Linked DNA regions of Homo sapiens: region 2 is linked to region 1. Evidence: promoter capture Hi-C in 16 types of primary human blood cells and fetal thymus (Javierre and others, 2016). All regions are on one chromosome and are shown on one strand. The core of a region is centred on a gene start or on the middle of the fragment in contact, and the rest is flanking DNA. Distances in the headings are between cores, read along the strand shown. Region 1 holds the start of ZNF433 (zinc finger protein 433). Region 2 overlaps ZNF791 (zinc finger protein 791).

What was found. The method cuts DNA at HindIII sites, captures the fragments that hold promoters and counts their contacts. A CHiCAGO score of 5 or more calls a contact.
Region 2: a fragment that was not itself captured here is called in contact with the fragment with the promoter of ZNF433 in region 1 in 3 of 17 cell types (megakaryocytes, erythroblasts and endothelial precursors); the score reaches 8.3 in megakaryocytes.

Annotation. Positions count from the first base shown.
Region 1 is chr19:12,033,802-12,038,474 of GRCh38, reverse strand. It overlaps ZNF433 (zinc finger protein 433), which reads left to right and starts at 2,796. Exons shown (of 4, transcript NM_001308348.2): 1 at 2,796-2,938. The coding sequence starts at 2,936. It overlaps ZNF433-AS1 (ZNF433 and ZNF878 antisense RNA 1), which reads right to left. Exons shown (of 3, transcript NR_134929.1): 2 at 2,703-2,921. RefSeq lists silencers at 2,682-2,841, 3,082-3,131, 3,142-3,261. The HindIII fragment of the contact is 7,472 bases long and covers 1-3,750 here.
Region 2 is chr19:12,630,964-12,636,136 of GRCh38, reverse strand. It overlaps ZNF791 (zinc finger protein 791), which reads right to left. Exons shown (of 4, transcript NM_153358.3): 4 at 2,303-5,173. LOC105372279 (a long non-coding RNA gene) reads left to right here. Exons shown (of 4, transcript XR_007067142.1): 4 at 1,649-2,998. Among named protein-coding and RNA genes, the nearest start is that of ZNF791, 23 kb to the right of the region's middle. The HindIII fragment of the contact is 1,798 bases long and covers 2,100-3,897 here.

The DNA of each region.
Region 1 (4,673 bases), core at 1,547-4,046:
TCAGCTCACTGCAGCCTCCACCTCCCAGGTTCAAGCAATTCTCATGCCTCAGCCTCCCGAGTACCTGGGATTACAGGCATGTGCCAGCATGCCCAGCTAATTTTGTATTTTTAATAGAGATGGAGTTTCTCCATGTTGGTCAGGCTGGTCTTGATTTCCTGACCTCAGATGATCTGCCCACCTCGACCTCCCAAAGTGCTGGGATTACAGGTGTGAGCCACCAAACCCAGCCCACACCCAGCTAATTTGTGTGATTTTAGTAGAGATGGGGTTTCACTGTGTTGGCAAGGCTGGTCTTTAACTCCTGACCTCACGTGATCTGCCTGCCTTGGCCTCCTAAAATGTTGGGATTATAGGCATGAGCCACTGCATCTGGCCCTCAGAGTGGAATGTTCTTTAGATCACATATTATTGCTGTACTCAGTTTCCATGGCTGAGGAAATAGTGCTGTCAATTAAATCAATAGGGAATGGCACTTCCTCTTGAGGGAACAATTAGTAAACCTTCAACCAATTGTCCTTTTCCAGTCATTTAGTGTCTGTATATGAATTCCAACATCATTGCTGCCAGCAGCTAAAATTATGATTCCATATCTGAAGTCACCTTTGCAAAAAGTATAACATAAGTCTACCTTGTCTCAGAGTGACCCCATCAACCTAGCCATGTTTTCATCTTTGTACAGTCTTCCATAAGGGAAGTAATTGCTTAGCCACATTTGGAGGAGGAAAAAGTGGCAGTGGAAGTAGTAACGTGCCTGGCAGGACTTCACTGCAGAGAAGAAGCAGAGTGGGAACTTCTTTAGATCACATATCATTGCTATACTCAGTCTCCATGGCTCAGGAAATAGTGCTTTCAGGTAAATTAGTAAGGAGTGCCACTTCCACCTGATGGAGCAGTTAGTAAATCCTCAACCAATTATCCTGTTCCAGTGATTTAGTTGCTGTATAAGAGTTCCAACATAAATGTTGCCAGGAGCTAAAAGTATGACTCTACATCTGAAAACCCTTTTGCAAGAATTATAACAGTGAGAAAATTATGACAGTGAAAGAGATCAGATCTAAGCGAACTCCATCTTTTCTTTAGCCTCCAAGCTACCCTTGTTCATTCCCGGGTATAGGTCTTACTAATATTGGAAGGAGTTTAGTTTAGCTTTAAAGCAAAAGTCATAACTGCCGCTTCCGTAAAGAAATTGTCTCCTTGCTTGGGAACCAGATTGCCTTTGTAAAACTAAGAAATTAGCCACAAGATTAGAAATTATGGTTCAGGAAATATGCGGCCAGAGTACACAAGATTCCCAACCTTCTCACTTGCTCCTGTGGATAATATTATTGTTGTAAGACCTAAGATTGGTGTTTGAGGTATTTTTGAGACCCTTCATTCTGATAAATTTGCTGGCATCACACAGACCAATAAACTGGCTCACCTGCTCCAGTGGCCCCTAGCCAAGAACTGACTCAGTGCAAGAAGACAGCTGAGACTTCCTGTGATATCCTTTTCGCGACCAATCAGCATTCCCCATTTTCCAGCCTTCTGCTCACCAAATTATCTTTAAAACCCTAGCCTCGGCCGGGTGCGGGGGCTCAGGCCTGTAATCCCAGCACTTTGGGAGGCCGAGGCGGGTGGATCATGAGGTCAGGAGTTTGAGACCAGCCTGACCAACATGGTAAACCCCGTCTCTACTAAAAATACAAAAATTAGCCGGGCATGGTGGCGCATGCCTGTAATCCCAGCTACTCAGGAGGTTGAGGCAGGAGAATCGCTTGAACCCGGGAGGCGGAGGTTGCACTGAGCCGAGATTGCGCCACTGCACTCCAGCATGGGCGACAGAGAGATTCCGTCTCAAAAAAAAACCAAAAAAACAAAACCTAGCCTCCCATTTTTTAGGGAGACAGAATTGAATAAAAATAAAACTCTTCTCTTTCATTTAGCCGGCTCTATGTATATTAAACTCCACTGCAATTCCCTGTCTTTTTTTTTTTTTTTTTTTTCGGAGACAGGGTCTCACTCTGACATCCAGGCTGGTAAAATCACAGCTCACTGTGGCCTCGACCTCTCTGGGCTCAGGCGATCCTCTCATTTCAGCCTTCCGAGTAGCTGGGACTGCAAACATGTACCACCACGCCCGACTAATTTTTGTATTTTTTGTAGAGGCGGGGTTTTGCTATGTTACCCAGGCTGGGCTTAAGTTCCTAGGCTCAAGCAATCTGCCTGCCTTGGCTTCCCAAAGTGGTGGGGTTACAGGCATGAGCTACCCCCACCCCCCCAGCCCACCGCCGGACGAGCTAAAGTTTCTATTCAACAGTACTCTATGGCAGGGGTCCCCAACCCCCGGTCCATGGCCTGTAAGGAACCAGTCCGCACAGCAGGAGGTGAGCGGCTGGCGGGCGAGCCAGCGGGCATTATCGCCAGAGATATGCTTCCTGTCAGATCAGCAGAGGCATTAGTCTGTCATAGGAGCCCGAACCCTATTGTGAGCTGCACATGCGAGGGATCTAGGTTGGGTTCGCCTTATGAGGATAAAATGCCTGATCTGAGGTGGAAGTTTCATTCCGAAACTATCTGCCCCCGTAGGAGAACTGTCTTCCACGAAACCGGTTCTGGTGCTAAAAAGGTTACAGACCTCTGGCTTAAAGAATCTATCGCTGGATCCGGTCAAACCCGTTTTCAGAGCCCCGTTACCAAGGGCTTCTATTGTCACTCACGGCTGAGGGGGCGGGGCCCGGCGCTTCGTCCAATCAGGGGCGCTGGGCGGGGCCTGCCGAGTGTCCATCGGGGAGGGCGAAGGCCCTGCTCTCCTCGGTTCCCGGCTCCAGGCGGCGAGCTGAGGTTGGGAGCCTGGCTTTCCCCTCCGAGAGGGTTCAGGTGCCTCTGCCATAGCTTCTGTCGCCTGTGCTGTGACCCGCACTGGTCGTGGGAGTCACCTGAAAGGCAAGAAATGGTGAGCGTGCGGGCCAGGGGTCCCGAGGCGGGGGAGGAGCTGGTTGGAACCGGCCGGAACCGGCTGTGGTGGGACCCGGGCCTCCCCGCGGCGACTCCGGGGTCTGGGACCCGATTTCCCGTGGGACAGCTCGGCCCTTGGTCCCCTTGGCCCCACAGTGGGGCTGGGCCGGCCGCCGGGACCCGGGCGTCTCGTCCTGTCCCTGCGCGGTGACTGTCACCCAGTTCCCAGAGCCCTCTCTGGGCAGCTCCGCGCCCGCTGCCCCGCGTCTCCCCACATTGTGCGGGGACTACGCGAGGGTCATGGGGGGATCCCGCCTCGGGTGTGGGGGTTTGTGTAGGAGGAGGGTGGGCTGTGGGGTCCCCAGTAGCGCCTTTCTCCTCTTAAAAATTAAACTGAGACACGTTAACAATTATAGTTTTGCTTCTCAGAATAGGTTTTAAAAAATATATTAATAATTAGAGTTCCTTTGAGATTCCTGAATGATAAACACCCAGTCCTGGCTTGTAATTTGTTAACGGAAAATGCCAAGCTGTGTAAAATAACTTAAAGAAGTTTATTCAGAGCCGAATAGGAGAGGCCTCAGCTGAGGAAAACACAACCCCAGGAGGCCTGAAGTAAGTGGTCCCGAGGCGGCTCAAGACTGTTTTTATTCATTTCAGGGAGACAGGAATTGCAGGGAGAATCATGCATCAATGCCTGGAAAGGTGTAAGTTCCTTTGGCAGAAAGGGCGGGACCTGTGGAAGGGGGGTTAGAAGGTGCAGGTGGTTGAGGGATTCTGAAGGTGGCCGTTGGTGGAGAGTGTGAAGCTTTGTCTAAAACTTCGAGGCGGTAGGAAGGATTGCTTAAGTGAAGAGGGTCTGGTATCTGTCATATGATTTCATCCCACCCAAAACAAAAGACCTGTTTCTTTAGATTTTGTGAATTCTAAGATTTGACTTACCTCTTGCCTTGCATGGCCTTAGGTCTTGTTTGTAATTTGGTTTCTTATTGTCACAGAGAGTCTGTGTTTCCAGTTGGCTGATGTCTGTTTTAACATGAAGGTGGGTCAGTGGCTATGTGGAAACTCCTAAAGGAAGCGGGTATAATGAGGCCTGTCCAGGTATAGTGAAGCCTGTCTGATGGTTAATCTGTAGTCAAGTGTGGGAGGGTTCCAGCTGGCTCTTTCCAGTGTCAGGTGACTCAATTCCAGAGTCACATTACTTTAAACTTCAAGATAATTTAGAGTTCCAACAGCTTCAATTTTTGAATTACTTATTTTCACAGACCATACAGTGGAAAATTTTTGGTTGTATAATCAGAGGTTACTCGACCAATTGTACCTGGTTAAGCCCATATTTCATTTCCCAATAAATTAGTAACTTGTTATTGTTTTCTCAGGCCACATACCGTCACATAAGTTAGTACTTTATATGAATAGCATTTGAATTTGATTTCCATGTTCTTGGCCAAGATCTTAGAGTACTATAGGCATTAAGTTTAATTACTTCTTATTCAAAATTTTCAACACTCCCCAGTTAACTGGTACTTCTCTGCATTTTCCAAATATATGGGAAGTGAGATCTCAAACCCTCCACCCTGTGACCCTGGCCTACCTCTGGAGAGCTTGCAGTACAATACTAAAATTTCAGTTCCTTTCTAAAATTTGCAGACACCAACTCTCCTTCTTCAATTTGTAGTATCAACTATTTGTTTTTGTTTTTGTTTTTTTTTGGAGACAGAGTCTTGTTCTGT
Region 2 (5,173 bases), core at 1,749-4,248, 600 kb before region 1:
AGGAGCTAACTGCAAGGAGACAAAGGCTTGGTGGGGATTTTAGAGAATGGTGCTTTGGCCGGGTGCAGTGGCTCACGCCTGTAATCTCAGCACTTTGGGAGGCCGAGGCGGGCGGATCACGAGGTCAGGAGATCGGGACCATCCTGACTAACACGGTGAAACCCCATCTCTACTAAAAATATAAAAACAAAATTAGCCAGGCATGGTGGCGGGTGCCTATAGTCCCAGCTACTCAGGAGGCTGAGGTGGGAGAATGGCGTGAACCCAGGAGGCGGAGCTTGCAGTGAGCCAATATCGCGCCACTGCACTCCAGCCTGGGTGGCAGAGCAAGACTCCTTCTCAAAAAAAAAAAAAAAAAAAAAAAGGACTCATAAGTTCTGCCCTAGATCAAAGCAACCTTAATGTGGTACAAATTATAGGCTATGACACACATAGCATTCTTGCCTGTTTTGGAAGGTGGCTGACATGAACTGTGTCACCCAGGTCTGAGTGCAGTGGCATGATCATGGCTCACTGCAGGCTCGAACTCTTGGGCTCAAGCCATCCTCCCACCTCAGCCTCTGGAGTAGCTGGAATCACAGGTGTGCCCCACCACACCCAGCTAATTTTTTACTTTTGTAGAGATGGGGTCTCAGTTCTTTTTTTTTTTCCTTTTTTCTCCTTCCCTTCCTTCCTTCCTTCTCTCATATCTCTGCTTTTCTTTCTTTTGCTTTCTTTCTCTTTCCTTTCTTTTTCTTTCTTTCTCTCTTTTTCTTTTCTTTCTCTCTCTGTCTTTTCTTTTTTCAACACGACTGAGCCTCACTGTCGCCCAGGTTGCTGTGCAGTGGTGTAATCACAGCTCACTGCCACGTGGAACTCCTGGGCACAAACCATCCTCCCACCTCAGCCTCCTAAAGTGTTGAGATGACAGGCATGAGGCACCCAGTACGGCCTCATTCAAATTTTCTAAGTCCGCTTATGGAAGCATGCACCTGCAGTCCCAACTACTTGGGAGGCTGAGGCAGGAGGATCACTCCCCAGAAGTCAAGGTGACAGTGAACTATGATCGCACCGCTGCAATCTAGCCTGGGTGATAGAGCAAGACCTCATCTCAAAAAAAAAAAAAAAGTTTGACAGGTGGTGGAACACACTAGAACTTCAAAACTTTGAGACTCTATAATTCTGATTTACATGAGTTTGGGAAAGACCCTGTGCTCTCTCTGCCTCTGTTTTTTCATGTGTAAGATGGGAGGAATCCCAGCACTTTGGGAGGCTGAGGTGGGTGGATCACCTGAGGCTAGGAGTTCCAGACCAGCCTGACCAACATGGTGAAACCCTATCTCTACCAAAAATACAAAAATTAGCTGGGCATGTTGGCACATGCCTGTAATCCCAGCTACTCGGGAGGCTGAGGCAGGAGAATTGCTTGAGCCTCGGAGGCAGAGGTTTCAGTGAGCTGAGATCGCGCCATTGCACTCCAGCCTAGGCGACAGAGTGAGACTCTGTCTCAAATAAATAAATAAATAAATAAGTCTATGAAACATTTATTTCTGGAATTTTCCACTAAGTATTTTTGGACTGTGTTTGACCATGAGTGACTAAAACCACAGAAAGCAAAACTTTGGATCAGAATTGACTACTGTATTACCATAATTAATTCTGAATACAGGTGTGACCGTGGTGATTGCTGGCAATAGGGCACTGAAAATACCACTGTTTTGAAGAGAATTTTGTTTTATGACAAAATGTAAGTATAAGAATAAAAAACATCTAAGGGAAAAATACCAGAACATTTATGCACATGCTAATATTGAGTCAGAATGTATCTTGACAAAATGACAAAGTTGATCTGAATATTCATAACTGTAATGGGATATTTTAATATAGCCTTTCAGGAAACGGGGAAGACAATTATTTGTTTTTGAACTAATAGAGATGGGGTCTTACTATGTTGCCCAGGCTGGTCTCCAACTTCAGGCCTCAAGCAATCCTGCCTCAGCCTCCCAAATTGTTGGGATTACAGCCATGAGCCACTGCACCCAGATGATGATAATATTTGATAGTATACATGTTGTTTGGAAACAGTTAACAAAATATTTCTAAGAAACATCTAAGAAGCTTTTGCTTCAAATAAATAAAAAATGCATTATTTTAGTTGCATACAACCAAACATAAATGAAAATAAACCGATGGAGAATATTCAGGAATAGTTGGAAACACCCACAATTTGTCTGATATGAGGAAGGTGATTATTCTCAAATGGAAGGATGGGGGAGAGTAGTCACTGTATAATGCAGTAAGAGAACAAACTCCCATATAGTTGTTTTTTTTTTTTTTTACTGTTTTACTGTAGCTGTCATGGTGGAATCAGGAATACATAGTCCCTAGTGGCATTAACAGAACAAGAACCATACAAATTAAAGCTCATAGAAACACAAAGGGAAGACAGAACCTCAGAGAACAATGCCAACCATGACAGTCTGAAATAGATGCTTGGGCCACACATGAAGGCTAGAAGGAAAATCCAAACTGTACGTGGATCTTTGATGCGGAGCTTGTGGAGACAACTGTGGAAACCAACACATCTCTTTGAGAATGGAAGTCAAGCAGCTCAGGGTGTTTTCAGGATACTTTTGATTGGCAGAGAAAATAACCAGGAAAATGAGCAGGAAGCAGGCTGTCTCCCTGTATGGTGGGGTTCCAATACCTGACTAATGTCTTCTTCACTTCTGCCTGGCAAATCTCATGCAAGTGAGGCTATAAGTGAATTTCAACATGGATCTATAAAGGGAACAGATTCTAGGAAATTTACCTGTGTCGACAGGTAGCAGGAGGGCCACGTCCAGCTCTAGATTTTATTGTCCTATCACAGGTGTCCTTCCTGAATTCAAACTCTACTATTCAAATCCCAGACAGAATTATAAAAAAAAGGCGAAAATAATAATTCGCATAAGAATATATGATAAACTTCACATACTTACCAACTTATGCCAGATGTTTAATAAAAAGGAAAATGGAATAAGGCTCTTCTAGCTGAAATTCATTTTATTTATTTATTTATTTGAGATGGAGTCTCGTTCTGCTGCCCAGGCTGGATTGCAGTGGCACGATCTCGGCTCACTGCAAGCTCCGCCTCCCGGGTTCACACCATTCTCCTGCCTCAGACTCCTGAGTAGCTGGGACTACAGACGCCCGCCACCATGCCCAGCTAATTTTTTGTATTTATAGTAGAGACGGGGTTTCACTGTATTAGCCAGGATGGTCTCAATCTCCTGACTTCGTGATCCGCCCACCTCGGCCTCCCAAAGTGCTGGGATTACAGGTGTGAGCCACTGCGCCCGGCAAGAAATTTATTATATTTTAATTTAATTTTTTTGATATGGAGTCTCGTTCTGTTGTCCAGGCTGGAGTGCAGTGGTGTGATCTTGGCTCACTGCAACCTCTGACTTCCAGGTTCAAGCATTTCTCCTGCCTCAGCCTCCCAAGTAGCTGAGATTACAGGTGCCCTCCAACATGCCCAGCTAATTTTTGTATTTTTAGTAGAGATGGGATTTCACCATGTTGGCCAGGTTGGTCTCGAACTCCTGACCTCAAGTGATCTGCTTGCCTTGGTTTCCCAAAGTGCTGGAATTACAAAGGAGTGAGCCACCGTGTCTGGCCAAGAAATTTAAAAAGCAGTTTTTCGGAAAAGGTGAAATAAATATATAATGGGTAATATATGCACCACCTTCCACATGAGGCCAGTAGGAAAAATCCTAGTTACAGTGTGTCAGTATTCAACAATCTCTTTATTCAGAGAACAACTGAAAAACTATACACAAATTAAAACTAATTGTATATTAAAAATACACTTCTACTAACACTGGTCTTTAAAAGAAAAAAAAAATACACTTCAGGCCGGGTGCGGTGGCTCAAGCTTGTAATCCCAGCACTTTGGGAGGCTGAGGCGGTCGAATCACGAGGTCAGGAGATTGAGACCATCCTGGCTTAACACGGTGAAACCCCATCTCTACTAAAAATACAAAAAAAATTAGCTGGGCATGGTGGCGGGCGCCTGCAGTCCCAGCTACTGGGGAGGCTGAGGCAGGAGAATGGCGTGGACCCGGGAGGCGGAGCTTGCAGTGAGCCGAGATCACACCGCTGAACTCCAGCCTGGGCAACAGAGCAAGACTCCGTCTCGAAAAAAAAAAAATACACTTCAGTTTACTCATGAATCAAGACATCAAGAGAAAGAGAAAAGTTTTACTAACTGATTTAATGAGAAAACACAACCTTTTAAACTTTTGACCACTGCTTAAAGAGTACTTACAGAATTATCTCACTTCCAAGACTTCTTGGAAAAGTAGTTAAGTTACAATTCATAGTCCAGAGATGTACTTGAAGAATGAGCCAGTGATAAAAAATTTTTAACTTTTTTTTGGTGTGTGGGATGGAGTCTTGCTCTGTTGCCCAGGCTGGAGTGTAGTGGCACAATCTCAGCTCACTGCAGCCTCCACCTCCCAGGTTCAAATGATTCTCCTGCTTCAGCCTCCCAAGTAGCTGGAATTACAGGTGCATGCCACCACGCTCAGGTAATTTTTGTATTTTTAGTAGAGATGGGGTTTCACCGTCTTGGCCAGGCTGGTCTCGAACTCCTGACCTCAGGTGATCTGCCTGCCTTGGCCTCCCAAAGTGCTGGGATTACAGGCATGAGCCACCATGCCTTGCCTTAACTTTTATATCGTGTGTGATGAATTTATATCATGGTGTGAATTTTCTGGAGCATTTTACAGGCAGAGATTGCTTAATCATGGGTATATGTTCTGAGAAACGTGTTGTAGGTGATTTCCTCATGGTACAAACATCACAAAGTGAACTTACACAAATCTAGATGGTATAGCTACAACACATCTAGACTATATGGTACAGTCTATTGCTACTAGGCTATAAACCATACAACATGTTGTTGTACTGAACACTGTAGGAAATTGTAACAAAATGTTAAGTATTTATGAGTCTAAACACAGAAAATACACAGAGTAAACATGCAGTATAAAAGATAAAAAAGGATGCACCTGCATAGGACACTCCATGAACATAGCTTGCAGGACTAGAAGTTGCTCTGGGTGAGTCAGTTGAGTGGTGAGTGAATGCGAAGGCCCAGGATGTTACTGTACACTAATGGAGAATTTATAAACACTGTACACTTGGACTA